3 separate regions of the Homo sapiens genome follow, and all the other regions are linked to region 3. The links are contacts of gene promoters, found by promoter capture Hi-C in blood cells and fetal thymus (Javierre and others, 2016). All regions are on one chromosome and are shown on one strand. Each heading gives the region's core, a stretch centred on a gene start or on the middle of the fragment in contact. The rest is flanking DNA. Distances are from core to core; before and after follow the strand shown. Region 1 overlaps EPB41L2 (erythrocyte membrane protein band 4.1 like 2). Region 2 holds the start of AKAP7 (A-kinase anchoring protein 7). Region 3 holds the start of EPB41L2 (erythrocyte membrane protein band 4.1 like 2).

Region 1 (4,580 bases), core at 977-3,476, 86 kb after region 3:
ACACATACCTTCAACCATCTTCGGATTTCCACCTGGATGTCACACATTTTCAGCCCAGATGTATTCAAAGTGGAAGCTTTTCCTTCCTTCCTTTCTGTTTCTTACTTTGTTTGGAAGTCTCTTTCTAACTTCATGGTACCACTATCTAACCTTTGACTCACAGGAACTTGGGAGCTTTATTTTTCATTACTCCCACAATCCAATTAATTATCAAGTCCCATTCATTTTATCCATTAAATATTTATTGATACCATCTCTTCATTTGCATTCTTATTGCTTCTATCTTAGTCTCCTGGATCCCTGGAACATCATCTTAACCAGTTTCCTTTTTTTTTTTTTTTTTTTTTGACAGAGTCTCGCTCCATCATCCAGGCTGGAGTGCAGTGGCACAATCTTGGCTCACTGCAGCCTCCACCTCCTGGGTTCAAGCAATTCTCATGTCTCAGCCTCCCAAGTAGCTGGGATTACAGGCGTGTGCCACTTTTTTTGTATTTTTAGGCTAATTTTTATATTTTTAGGAGAGATGGGGTTTTGCTATGTTGGCCAGGCTGGTCTCAAACTTCCGACCTCAAGTGGTCAACCCACCACAGCCTCCCAAAGTGCTGGGGTGACAGGCATGAAACACCACACCCGGCCAGTCAGTTTCCTTTCATTGTGTCAGTTGGTCTCATGTGGCTGCCAAAGTCATCTTCCAGAAATACAAAGTTAATAGCATTTTCTTATTGCCTGCAGAATAGAGTAAAAACATCTGAGCTTAGCATATTGATCATGCATTATTTGGGTGTTGCTTCCCTTGTCCTGTCTCCTCCACTCCCCACCCCTGTGTTCCAGGCACTTGAAGTTCTCAGTGTTCTCTACAATGCATTTATCTTTCATGATTCTGTGTCCTTCACTTACTGTTCCCACGGTGAAGAGTGTGCTTCTACCCACTTATAATAAGCCCAGTAAGCTCCTTCTTATCCTTCAAGGTCAGGTCAAGTGTCACCTCGGGAAGCATTCTTCCTTCATCAAGTCTGTTAAGTGCTAAATTGTTTATGCTTCCATTATAGCTCTTATTCCCTTTGTAGTTAGCTATTTAAATGCCCTGCTCTCACACTGCTGGAGCCACATTTTATACAGGTCTGTGTCCTCAGCAGCTATCAGCAAGCACAAAGCAATTCCTCATGGAATGAATGGATCTTTACAAAACCCAAAAGTACAGTATTAAAATCAAGATTTCATGGGCAGAGGTAATGGTGAGTATAATGGCTTGATATTAGATATTTTTTATTTATTGTTTTGAGTAGGTGTGGTTGTGGATTGAGAACATCTTGGCACTTGTGGTTAGGATTTTCTAATTCAAATTTAGAGAGTTAGGTTTTGAAAGTGAAGCGACAGAGCTGTAGTCTCAAATTATGGAGAGCTAATAAAGTTATGAAGGACTGGAAGTACACTGGGTTCTCAACAAGTGGCCACACCATTGCAGATCATGTATCAGGCAGAAGGAGGATAGTGAGACAGGTGAAGTGAGGAGAGGGCCCCAGATTGGGGCTGTACCTCCCCACCACACTCTGGGTTTGTAGCTGGGCATTGCTTATTACAATACACCTTAATGTTTCCCCAGCTTGCCCTGGTAGAAGCAGCATTCAACTTTATACAACATGTTTTTTGATAAAAGCTTTGTGTTTACACGTTTGATGTTTATATGGTTCTAGCAGAGCCTCTTGGAATGGTGGTGGCTGTTTTAAAGTAAAGGAGAGAAAAGAAAGAAGGGAAATTATAGGGGATGGGTTAGGTAGGGATAGAATTTTCCTTCTACAAATTGAGAAAGAAATAGATACATTGGATTGGTAGGAAATTATTATACATTAATGTTTGCTTTTTAAAAATAAAGTTAAACCATAATGATACCTTCCACCACTTTTAGGGGAAAAGGCGTAGATGAACCTTTTGACCATGGAAATTCTGTGTTTAACAGTAAATTGCATTCATTTAGTGTTTTGCACTTTACCAGTAGCTATTATGATTCTTTTTTGATCTTTAAAACAATCCCATTATATAGGTAGGTTAGCAGCTGCTACTTTTATGTTATACGTGTAGCTAACTGGCAACATGGGAGCATATCTCAAGCTGTTTGAGGACGTTTGATGTTCCTTAAGGTTAAGAAGAGTAGATAATTTCTTGACAATTGCCCTTTTATTTTTGGAGACTTAGAATTTTGGGGGAGGAGGGAGGTTATGGCATTTTTCATGAGTACAGAAGTTGGAGCAGAGCTGGGGAGCATTGTAGATCTCTTGGATTCCTAGTCTTAGGGCTGTTTTGTTTCTTCTGGCCCTTGGACAACAATGAAGGGTCTCTATTCTTTTTTTCTTTTTTCTCTCCTTAACAGTGTGTCTCCCCTTCTCATCCAGGCAGGACAGTTTGCTACAGGAAAAGGCATTGAGATTATTAGTAAGAATCTGACATCTATCCTGGTGAGATCTTGCTACTGATTTGCTATGTAAATAATCTAACTGCTGGGCCTTAGATTTCCCATCTAATTAAAGGCAAGAGGTAGAGGTACATGAACATTGAGATCCTTTTAGCTCTGAACTACTTTGATTCTTTACAAATTCCATTTTGCTCAGTCATATGTAGAGTATTATACAGCTGCTAGCAAGATTGTTGTTTCTGCTTTGTATGTAGTGGACTTTGTGGTAGGTGCTTTTGTTTTATTTCTTTCATCCCTAAGGCAAGGTGGGTGTCATTATGACCGAGTGGTAGCATCTGCTCCTTCAAAGTGTGAGAGAAGAATGATCTTATAATTGTAAGCTTTATAACGCTTTCTTTGACCACCCAAAGGAGGTGACCATTTCCTTTGTGCCCTTCTTGTACCTCTCTTACAGCCCTTATCACATATGGTGTAATGATTTGTTTATGTGTCTGACTTGCCTGCTAGACTGTAAATGTCCAGTAGATTCTTGTGGGCAAGAACTTTCCCTAGGTCTTTAGGGCCTAGACCAGTGTCTGGTGTAAAGCAGGAATGCAGCACATATTTCTTAGACATAAAATAGAATGAAAATAATACAGTTTAATGTACCTGCTGGATTACTATACTTGTCTGATTGTGTAATTTAAAAAGTGGTGCTTTTGACTTTTGTAGTTAATTAAAAGCAGACAAGAAGGATTTGTTAAGAGTTTTATCCTAATACTTTTTAGATGCTTCCTTGGTTCAAAACAGTAACTTTTTGATTAGAGATTCTCAGCCACCACTCTTTTATTCTTTTGTCCATTTTCCTCCTTCTGTACCTGCTTCCACTTTCTCTCTATACCCCTTGTAAAAATCTGGGGTCATGCAGTATCTTTCTTTCCTAGAGTCCCATAAATCTACAGTACTTTTCAACATTACATCTTAAAAATGTAATTGTTTTTAATGTAATTGAACATATGAGTCTAACATTGCTAAGATGTCTGGTAGGGAAGAAACTTTGCAGGTGACGCATGTGCAGTTGTATACATTATTCTGGTTTAGAGCCTGAGAGAAGTTAAACTGTGGTATGTGGTCAAAGAAGAACTTGCACATTAGAGCCAAGGTGCTAGTGAAAAAAATTAGTTTTTCTGCCTACATCAGATATGTCAGTATCAATGATCCTATGAAATGTGGACCATTTTTAAAAACGTTAAAAAAATTTTATAGACCGACTGGGAAGTTCATTCATATTGAAGAGTCATGAAACTCCTGTCCATGTTTGTTCAGGAAGTAATCTTGCATGACGATTGGTAGATGGGAAGATTGGATTCCCTGTACAATCAGAATAAAAAAAAAGAGTTTTGTTTTGTTTTGTTTTGTTTTTGAGACGGAGTCTTGCTTTGTTGCCCAGGCTGGAGTGCAATGGTGCAATCTTGGTTCACTGCAACCTCCACCTCCCAGGCTCAAGTGATTCTCCTGCCTCAGCCTCCCGACTAGCTGGGATTACAGGCACATGCCACCGCGCCCAGCTAATTTTTTTTTGTATTTTTAGTAGAGACGGGGTTTTACCATGTTGGCCAGGATGGTCTTGAACTCCTGACCTCAGGTGATCCACCCACCTTGGCCTCCCAAAGTGCTGGGATTACAGGCGTGAGCTACCACGCCTGGCCAGAGGTTTTTTACAAAATTTCTTCTGAGTACTTTTTAGGTTATTTTAGTTTTTTTCCAGAAAATTGTGTTGTCTGGTTCTTTTCTTAGTAGGATAGATGATAATCACTTTACAGATGGGGGCTAGATGAGCAGAAGTGAGATAACCAAAAGGAATTCTTCTTCCTCATTGTCTTTTCTGTGATATTGATAACTGTACTTTCTGCCTAGAGTTTGTGTCTCTTAAGGTTTTTGAGCCATGAGTGACTCATCAGATTATTGGGTTCTCTGTATCTTACTCATTCTTTGTCCTCATAAAGTAGGAGGTAGGATGATTTTTAAAAGTCAAATTATGATACTGGGTTTAAGATAAAATTCTGTGTCTACACAAACTCACATACACAAATGTAGGGAAAGTGTTCCCCTCCTAACCTTAACCAACTTCCTTGAATATTTTAAAATTAACTTTTGGAGGATAAACCTAATTTCCTGTTTTAATGAAATA
Region 2 (4,718 bases), core at 1-2,500, 72 kb before region 3:
GTTAATAGTGTCCGAAAATGGATGAAAGGAGGAAGTAACCTCCACAAACATCTTAAACTTTATGAGTAAGGAAAATATACAGATATGCTAACAGGATCCTGAATTGCAAAGCCACGGCACTTAAACAAGGAACTGGAGTATGGCTCTTTTCTCCTTAACAATTTCCATTCCCATGCATTTCCTAAATGCAAAAACTCACTGTCATCATTCACTTAACAATTGTCAACATATTCACACGATTAACTGCTATTTATATAGTACACTTTAACGTTTTTATGCTTTTTATACTCTTCTATGAGTTTATCCTATGAAACTCTTGCAGAGGAGCACCTTTTCTCTAATTGGTTTGCGGACCCTTTTACCGAAAGTCCACCCCTAACTCGCTCTATCACAAAGTTCAGTTCACAACAAACGCTGACCTAAACTGGAAATTCATTCCGGGCGCTAGTGTAGACTTGGCGCCAGTTTTAAAAGCGGTCATGTCCAAACCTGGCAGAAAATCCTAAATGAGACAGTATGGTGGTTCGGGTGCTTAATATTTGTGATATAAGATAAAATCGAAATTTTACTAGGTTTTGTTTACATTTACCCACATCAACACCGTCGGAAGGAATGTGTACTGGCATGAACTTTGTGCAAAGGGTCACAGGATGAGAAAGGGAGAAAGAAAAGTGAAACTCGGGGATGGGCTCATACCCCCGCCTCCTGTCGGACCCACAATGCGTGCATTAAAACGCTTCGCTACAGGCAGCACTGATGTACACCCCGGTTGCACCGGGCTTCTCGGTGCTACCCTGAGTCCTTTTGGGAAGGAGGGAGACTCGGAGAAGGGCCGGCGCGGGTCAGGCCCTCCCAAAGTTCGAGCGCAGAGCAGGCCCAGGCCCCCGCGGCTCCTGTCGCCCCCGCCCCGGCCCGCTGGACAGCCCGGTCTCACCCGCTTCGGGGCGCTCCATGGTCGCGGCGCATGCGGGCGGCGCGTCTGGGCTGGCGGCAGCGGCGGTGGCGGGCCGCGTCCCGGGGCTGGAGGCGAGGCCGAGGCGGAGGCCAGGGCGGGGCTCGGGGCCTGAGGGCGGTGCGCTGGGCCGGCGCGGGGTCCAGCGACAGGCTGCGGGGGCCCGGGCGGCGGAGGCCAGGCCTGCGGAAGCGCGGAGCTTCCCAAGCCGCAGCCCCCGCGGCAGCGGCAGCAGCGGCGGCGGCAGCCGCAGCAGCCGCAGCACCCGCATGCCAGGCCGGACGCCGGAACAAGCCAGAAGGGGCCGACCCGAGTCGCCGGTGGTACCCGGATTCGGGCGAGAGGCGCGGACGCGCTCGGGCAGGGCGGGGGAAACTAGGGCCGGCGACTGCGGCGTCACGGCAGCCCAGGTCGTCTCGACTCTGCAATGCGACGCTGGGTCTTCGCCTGCCTGCCGAGCCCCGCGGCCTCCGACGGCCTTTGGCAGCCCTCATTTATTTCCCGTGGCGCAGCCTTGCCCCTCCCACGCTTTCAAGGGCGAGATTGGGACTAGGATGAAAGAATTCTCTGGCCTGGTGTCTTTTGAGAATCCATGTGCTTAGTTTTGCAATCAGGGTTCTGATTGCAGAATATTTGGGAAGAGCGAAATGTACAAGAACGAGACCTTGTACTTCTGTATAATGAGATACTTTATTTACCTTACTTTTAAAAACTGCAAATTGTGACAAAGTCTCTAATTTTTAACAATGATGTTATGTTTAGACATTAAGAGGAAACCAGTTGCTGGTTCTTGTAGTATAAGGTACTGCAGTGAGTAAATTGGGAGAAAAAGAAATTTACTTAGTTTAAAAAAATAAAAACCTTTCACTTGAAACGGAATGCTATTGGGATTGGTTTTAGTGCGAAGAAACCAGGGGTTAAGAACATTAGGTGCATCCGTCCACAAATTAGCGCCTTTCGTGAATAATAACACTTCGCTTATGTTGAATGCATCGTAGAATAGGGATGGAAGAAAAGAAGACCCCTACACAGCCACAACAGCTGGCGTAAAGGCTGCACACTAGAAGTCGGCAAACTAGTTACTCTGATTTTCAAATAATTCTAACACGTTGAGTTTCTGATGCCCATTTATGGGCTGGTAGGAAAGTACAACCAGTTCCCCTAATATTTATTTAATGCTTGAGCTCTGTGCTGAGGATGTGCAGGTAAGACAGGTCTTTTACTTATGGAGCTGATCATATAATAGCAGAGAAAGAAACATAAGTAACTGCGGAAATAAAAGCTGCAAAAATGTGGTCCACATTCATAGTGAAGAGGATGAGAATATGCCACCCCAAATATGCCACTTCAGCATAAGGATTATTCTTGAGCTTAAAACAGTTCAGAAACTAAAGACTCAGGAACAACTTTGACCTCCCCCTTTCTGCCTAAAAGCAGGACATAAATTTCCCTTCGTAAAGGTGACATAAATTTTTATTTTTAAAGCTTTACCAGGCCGGGCCCAGTGGCTCACGCTTGTAACCCCAACACTTTGGGAGGTCAAGGCGAGTGGATCACTTGAGTCCAGGAGTTTGAAACCAGCCTGGGCAACATAGCAAAACCCTGTCTCTACCAAAAATACAAAAATTAACCAGACGTGGTGACCCATGCCTGTAATCCCAGCTACTCCAGAGGCTGAGGTGGGAGGATCGCTGGAGCCCAGGAGGTGGAGGTTGCAGTGAGCTGAGATGATGCCATTGCACTCCAGTGTGGACAACAGAGCCAGATCCTGTCTCAAACAAACAAACAAACAACAAAGCTTTACCACTCACCCATACCAGAAAGAGGAGAATGAGTCTTACCTGCATAACAAACCCATACATTTTCTAGTAACCTTCCCATACTGCAAAAAGGCTAAGCCCCCTTTTCCTTTGTCTAGCCTCTCCACACTTTATCATCGTTAAAATGGTATAGAAGCCCCCAGTTCTAACTGCCTCTTCGGGCTTTTAGTTCTTTCCTGTGAAGCATCTATGTGCATGTGTAATAATCCTTTTCTCGTCTTAATCTGTCTTTTGTCAATTTAATTTACACAGTCCAACCTAGTGAACTAAATGGGCAGGAGAAAGATTTTTCTTCCCCTGTGGTGTGTACCAAGAGATATATGGAAGTTTCATTCTCTTACCTAAGCAGAGGTAACAGCCCAAATGCCACATATTTTTCACCACCAGTATTATGAATACAGAGTCTTATCAACACCTACCATGTGGAGGAACATTTTAATTACCCAAGTCTGAAAAAGGAATTTTTCACAGAGCTTCTTTTAGAAATGACAGGGAGAAAGGGAAGTACAAGGTGAACCTTGGACATCTTCTTGTGCCAAAAAGCAAAGACAAATGGGGACTATCAAAAACACAAGGACTAGCGAGAAACAGCTTTCTTTGAGCAAATGGGAGATAATCTGACATCATAAAAGGATAACACCTGTAATTATTGTAACATACTGAATACAAAATCTATATACCCATAATAATACTCAAAAAATGAGGAAGAAAAACTAGTAGGCCACCATTAAAGGTGACAAGTACGCAATTCCTTAGTCTCCTTACTCTAAAAATTAAAGGGAAAGAAAGATTTACCATGACTTTTTAGAAGTAGTAGTATGGGAAAGCTGCTTTGCACAGAAGAATTTTCAATAATAAATATAGGAGACATAAAATAATTGGAAAATTACCATTTTGCCACCACAACTGATAACTGATTGATGCAAAGATCATCAATATATTCTAAAACCATTACATGAAAGGTTAATGTGGACCGAAATATTTATAAGTTGCCAAAATACTACCCCCCACAAAATACTTGGTAATTGCTCAGGAGAGAACATATTTTTACTCCATGTAAATAAACCTGGTTGTCACCACCTTTATCGTGATTAAACTCAGCATCATTAATGGTGGACAATCTGTGAAAGCTCCTGTGAAAGCTATATCATCACTGCAAGGTAGTCTTGCCATAAATATTTCACCTGAAGCTGCTAAGGCTTTAAATATAATTTTCAGATTTCCAGAAATACAGGAGATAGAGGTACAAGTAAAATAACATGATGAGGAAAGAATCAGACCAATCCAGAATGTGTGACATTCTAGAAAATAATTGGCTCAGGCTTTTCAAAATCTCGGTGGGGTGTTGTGGTCCAGGAACAGTGTGGTAGCTTAAAACTAAACCCTTCCAATCCAGTTGTTTTGGCACTGTGCCAGTGTATATTGTCCTCTGGGGAGAAAAGGGCTGTGTACTAATAGTCAGGGAGGAATGGGCAGAACATACGGAGGGAGAGGGAAGTGTGGACCAGAGGATCCATGCCCTCATGAGTCGTGCTGCAGGTGAACCTTCGTTAAAGCATTGGGCAACCTGGTTCTTTTTTGCTTTCATAAAACAAATTAATACCTATGAATTCATCTTTTTTTTTTTTTTCTGAGACGGAATCTCGCTCTGTCGCCCAGGCTGGAGTGCGGTGGCGCAATCTCGGCTCACTGCAAGCTCCGCCTCCCGGGTTCCCGCCATTCTCCCTGCTCTACTTCCCGAGTAGATGGGACCACAGGCGCCCGCCACCACGCCCGGCTAATTTTTTGTATTTTTTAGTAGAGACGGGGTTTCACTATGTTAGCCAAGATGGTCTCGATCTCCTGACCTCATGATCCGCCCGCCTCGGCCTCCCAAAGTGCTGGGATTACAGTTGTGACCCACCGCGCCTGGCCGAATTTATCTATTTAATTGATTTTCAATATTA
Region 3 (4,726 bases), core at 2,113-4,612:
TGGGAGTGGCTTTTCCAAAGATGACATCACTTGGTGTGTCTTAGATGGAAAGGAGGTCCTGTGATGCTTTTGATAAAAAATCTGTATAAAGAGTTGCTTGAGGGCCAACTTGAATACCAGACTAGAAAAACATGGTGCCTGTAGTGAATTGCTTACAAGATGTCTGTCAACAATTTTCCCCCTCACTGTACAGACATTCCACGCCTCCTACCAAGAAGCAAAGTCTATGACCCCTCTCCTTGAATTGCGGCTGGCCCTCTGATTTGCTTTGACCAACAGAATGGAGCATAAGTGATGCTGTGTGACTTCTGGGCAAAGCCCTTGCAGGCCTTGCAGCATTTGTTTTTGTTCTCTTGGAAGCTGGGTGTCATGTAAAGAAGTCTGGGTTATCCTACTAGATAGGCCACATAGAGGATGGAGGGAGGGAGCGCGTGCAGAAAACAAAGGGAGACAGAGGGAGAGAGAGAGAAACAGAGAGAGAGGGAGAGAGAGAAAGAGTCTGGAGGATGAGAGTCCATGTGGAGGAGAAATTAGGTGCCCCAGTTGACAGGCAGCACCAACTGCCAGACATGTGAGTGAAGCCATCTTAGATCCTTTATCCACAGTTGAGCCTCCCAGCTGAGCATTGCTTGAATTCCTGCCCCAAAGAACCACAAGCAATAAAATGGTTGTTTTAAGTCACTAAAGCAGGGTCTTGTAGTCCAGTTGAAACTGAGCCAAAGTTGGCCAGGTGACAGAGTGACTCCTGCAGTCATTTGTGTGATATGTTTGTTGCTGTGGCAGTGGAACTGGGATTGCATGAATTCACGATGAAGCTTGAGAATGCCTTAGAAATAGTAGGAGAGGGCATTTTCAGGTCTTGCTGCCTGTGGACCACGTAAAGGAAGGGCAGGTCCTCAACCCAGAGCCACTCCAACCTGGTTTGGGCTTGGCACACAGAAGGCACAAAGATAAAATGATGACTCATGGATATAGTGAGATCAAGCTCTTCCAGAGGCCACGCCTATGGGGGTGAGTTGGTAAGTAAGGGCACTAAGGAGGTCCTGGGTACATTTCTAGTCCATACTTCCAGACTAACTTTGCTTGCACATAGTGCCCAGGATTGAGGCTATTATGGTAAATTTGGATGTGGTAGCTCTCAGGACTAGTACCTATATTCTTCTCTTGTTCTCTGTGTCAGTCCTTTGCCTGTTACTACAGTGTGTCTAGCAGGAAGACCCAATCTTGTTCTACCTAGAGTGTTTTCCTGGGGATTAACATTCTGCCCTTGAACTGCAGCCTGGTAGTCCTGACAGTGCTTCCGCCTGCCTGAGTCTTTGGATGTCACCTATTCCAGGACTTTGTCCTTCTTTCTGTTCAAACCCCTCTTCTCTTCTTGTTAGACTTCCCTGGTTGTCTGGACTACCACCTGTTGTTTGCTAAATCTCTATGATGCCACTTCCATCAGTTTTCTTCACTTCCTTATAGCTTCTGGGACTTGATTTTTCTGCCCTCAGTTCCTGCTAGGTCCTCACTGAATCTGTTCCATTCCATTAAAATGCCAGGGCTATGTAAGGCTGTGTCCAAAAACAGAGTTCAATTCTTCTTTCACACAATAGCCTTTATACATTTGACAACCTTTTTATCACCTTTAATCATCTCTTTAGGCTAAATCTTGCTGGTTCCCACATTTTCAAGGTCACCCATTTATGGTTATAATTTAGCTTATCAATATTTTCTTTTGGAGGGAAAAATTTCTTCTTAAGAGGTGGCATATAGGAGTGATTCATGTACTTCAACGCAGAGTATAGTAAGCATATCCTTTCTTATGAGAAGGGCATTATATTTTATTAACTATGCCTATATTTATGTTATTTTGCACTAGCATTTTAAAGGGGGCTCCATCAGGGTGGTTCAATGTTTTATGGGCCCAAAAGCTTATATGACTTTAGGGACTCTTTAAAAAACACAAAATGAAATACAAAATTATAAAGTTAGTTTCAAGGCTTGTGAAAATGAGAGATCCCGAAGTTTGTTTCATTAGTTTCGTTGTAAATCTGCTGCATATTTCTTATTATGAGAAAATAATAGTATTTTCTCATTAAATTCCCAGGTCTCCTTTACCAGAATTGCTGTCTAATCAGATTTCTGCTCTGTTTTAGCACACCTTATAAAATTTAACTTGTATACTTAGCATATGGGATTGTGATTAAATTAATACATGTAAGGGACTTAGAACAATGCCTAGCACATAAAGCACACAATCAACCTTAACTATTATTATTTGTATTATTTACTAGAAGGACCTTGGCAAATAATTTATCTTCCCAAATCTTTTTGATGTAATGGAGCTCAAACGTGCCTGCCTTTTTCATAGGGTGATTGTGAGGATCAAATGATGATAAAATATGTGAATGTATTTTGTTAACTGGAAGGTATTGTTACTGAGGTTTCATTTGACATTGTTAATTTTGGAAAAGGTTCTGTTTAGGAAAGAAAGGGAGACGACTTTGGCTGTGGTGGAATCACTAAAGACCTCAATAAAAGTGGGAGGAGTAAAAGGGATAAGAGGTGCGTGTGAGGCAGATGCTGGAGGCAGTGAGCTGGACACGTTGTTTGACACCAGCTTGACGTGCAAACCTTCAAAAGATGAAATATATTGAATCTGAAACATATTGACCTCATTGTACAAAAGAAAAGAACCAGAAGGGTAGCGTGTGTGTGCTTGTGGCTTTCCACAATTTAGCCCCAAACTAGGTTTTTTCCAGACTCTTCTTCACCCGTGGTCATGCTCTGCAATCCAGATTCCCAGGCCTCTGCCCAGAGAAATCCTACTTACTCTGGGGAGGCCTTTCCTCCACGGGGTTTCCCCAACCCCTCCTGTCCCTCCCACAGGAAGAATAAATGGTTCCTTTTCAATGCCCTTCCTGTGAAAGCACTTTTTCCACTCTAGACTGAGGGAGACCCAGTTTTCCTTATTCTGCATCTCCAGGCTCTGCTCCAGTGTTTACCTCTAGGAAGGCGCTCAGTGAAGGTTTAGTCAGCAAATGCACTTTGAATAAATAACTTTTAAAAGTTGAGAGGACATTTAAGGCCGGGAATCGCAGTTGAGAACGCCTTGCCCAGGCGCATTAGCTGTCATCCGGGCTGCCCTGAGGGCGAAAGACGTCCTCCACCCCCGGGTCTCCGCGGCCGCGCTTGCCGAATCCCGCGGGAAAGGTCCCCCGCCCGCGCAGGGGCGGGGCCTGGGCGTCGGGGGCGGGACCGCCCGCGGGGGTTTCCGCGCCGGGGGCTCGTCCGGCGGGGTCGCGGGAGGGGCTTCCGCCGCGAGGGGGCGGGGCCGGCCCTCAGAGTCCTCTGACGGCCCCAGTCAGGGAATTTCAATTTGAAACCTAGCGGAGGGAGGAGGCAGGCGCGGCTGCCGGCGGCTGGGACTGAAGAGGGACGGGTCCCGCGGCGAGCGAGCTCCTGAGGTACGGCGTCGGGGTAAGGAGGCGTGCGGGGCTGCACGGGCCGGGCGACTGGTCAGTGTGGGGTTGCAGGGGCGGCTCAGATTTTTCCTCTGGCTGCAGCTGGGAAGCTGATTCCGGGCAGGAAGCGGTGGCGGGACGGTCCCACCGGGATGGGGGGCGGGGAGAGGGGGCCCGGCTTTGGGATTTTCTGCGGCTCCCTCTCTCCTTTCCTTCCCGGTCTCTGCCCGACCCGATTCTTGCCCGGGGGTCCGGGTCCTGTTGCTCCGGGCCGGATCCCGGCTTCGCTGCTCCCCGCGGTCCCCCTCTTCCCTCTTCCGGGGGACCGGGGCCGCGTCCCGGCGGAGCCAGGAAAGGCGGGGGCACGGGGAGGACGCCGTCCCCCCCGGGGTGCCGTGGGCTCAGGTCACGCGTCCGGGCCCCGTGGAGCAACAGCGGGAAAAATCCGGCTCCATCCCCCCCGCGGGGAGGGGGTCGGCCGCGGCGTCGCCCTTCAGGAGGAAGGTTTTAGGAGGGGAAGCGCGGGCCGGCCGCGCGCGTGGGGACTGCGGGAAGCCGGGCGAGGGCGGCGCGCCAGCCCCACGCGCGGTGCGGGTCGGGCCCGCTGTAGGCTCGCGTCCGCGCCCCCAGCTGCCGCCTGCGCCGTCTGGGAGCTGCGGAGAGGGACGCGTGTTTCGTGCTCCGATCCTTACAATTCCCACACCCAGGCCATCTCACCACAGATGGCTTGTTTTTTCTCCTCCTGCGCCTGGGGGCCGAGGGTTGGGAGCATTTTTAGGTGAGCAGCGGGGAAGGGCGAGGAGAACCTAAAGGAGCGCGACAGGGTTGAAGTCGGCGTCTGGGGACGCCATCCCCAGGCGCAGACGCTGCCCCCAGCAGCCTGAGGTCTGTGGTGGGACATCAGTTATGCTTCTCTAGATCGCTCACCTCCCCTGAGGTCAAGTTTTTTTTTTTATATATATGTATAAATAAAATGAGGTTTGGTGAGAAGAACTACTGCCTAGAGTCTATTATTTTGGGGAGGGGTCTGCGTATGGAGCCCTCCCTACGGACCCGGGTAGTCTTTCATTGAATTGCCCCATCAACACCACAGCTGCCCTTAATTTTAAGATCCCTGGGTGGATGGGAGAGAAGGTGGAATCTAGAGGAGCTGTGGCTATATTTTCGCTTTTCTGAATCACATCTTTCCCCAGTTTCTTGAACTTCTTGCCTCTGAAATGGCATGTGTGTGCCAGGCGTCTTGTTCCTCTTGTTACTGTTATTTAAGCTGTTTTAAA

What was found. The method cuts DNA at HindIII sites, captures the fragments that hold promoters and counts their contacts. A CHiCAGO score of 5 or more calls a contact.
Region 1: a contact is called between a fragment that was not itself captured here and the fragment with the promoter of EPB41L2 in region 3, in 1 of 17 cell types (endothelial precursors). The highest score is 5.2, in endothelial precursors.
Region 2: a contact is called between the fragment with the promoter of AKAP7 here and the fragment with the promoter of EPB41L2 in region 3, in 5 of 17 cell types (monocytes, neutrophils, naive CD8 T cells and 2 more). The highest score is 8.4, in monocytes.

What each region holds. Positions count from the first base shown.
Region 1 is chr6:130,975,260-130,979,839 of GRCh38, reverse strand. The region is part of intron 1 of EPB41L2 (erythrocyte membrane protein band 4.1 like 2); the gene reads left to right. Among named protein-coding and RNA genes, the nearest start is that of EPB41L2, 86 kb to the left of the region's middle. The HindIII fragment of the contact is 1,133 bases long and covers 1,660-2,792 here.
Region 2 is chr6:131,131,999-131,136,716 of GRCh38, reverse strand. AKAP7 (A-kinase anchoring protein 7) reads right to left here and starts at 1,250. Exons shown (of 8, transcript NM_016377.4): 1 at 935-1,250. The coding sequence starts at 953. RefSeq lists enhancers at 623-682, 1,119-1,619 and silencers at 943-1,052, 1,203-1,292. The HindIII fragment of the contact is 7,096 bases long and covers 1-2,439 here.
Region 3 is chr6:131,061,881-131,066,606 of GRCh38, reverse strand. EPB41L2 (erythrocyte membrane protein band 4.1 like 2) reads left to right here and starts at 3,362. Exons shown (of 20, transcript NM_001431.4): 1 at 3,362-3,452. It overlaps LOC105378004 (a long non-coding RNA gene), which reads right to left and starts at 3,204. Exons shown (of 3, transcript XR_942993.3): 1 at 2,991-3,204. RefSeq lists silencers at 3,126-3,465, 3,806-3,905. The HindIII fragment of the contact is 3,039 bases long and covers 1,919-4,726 here.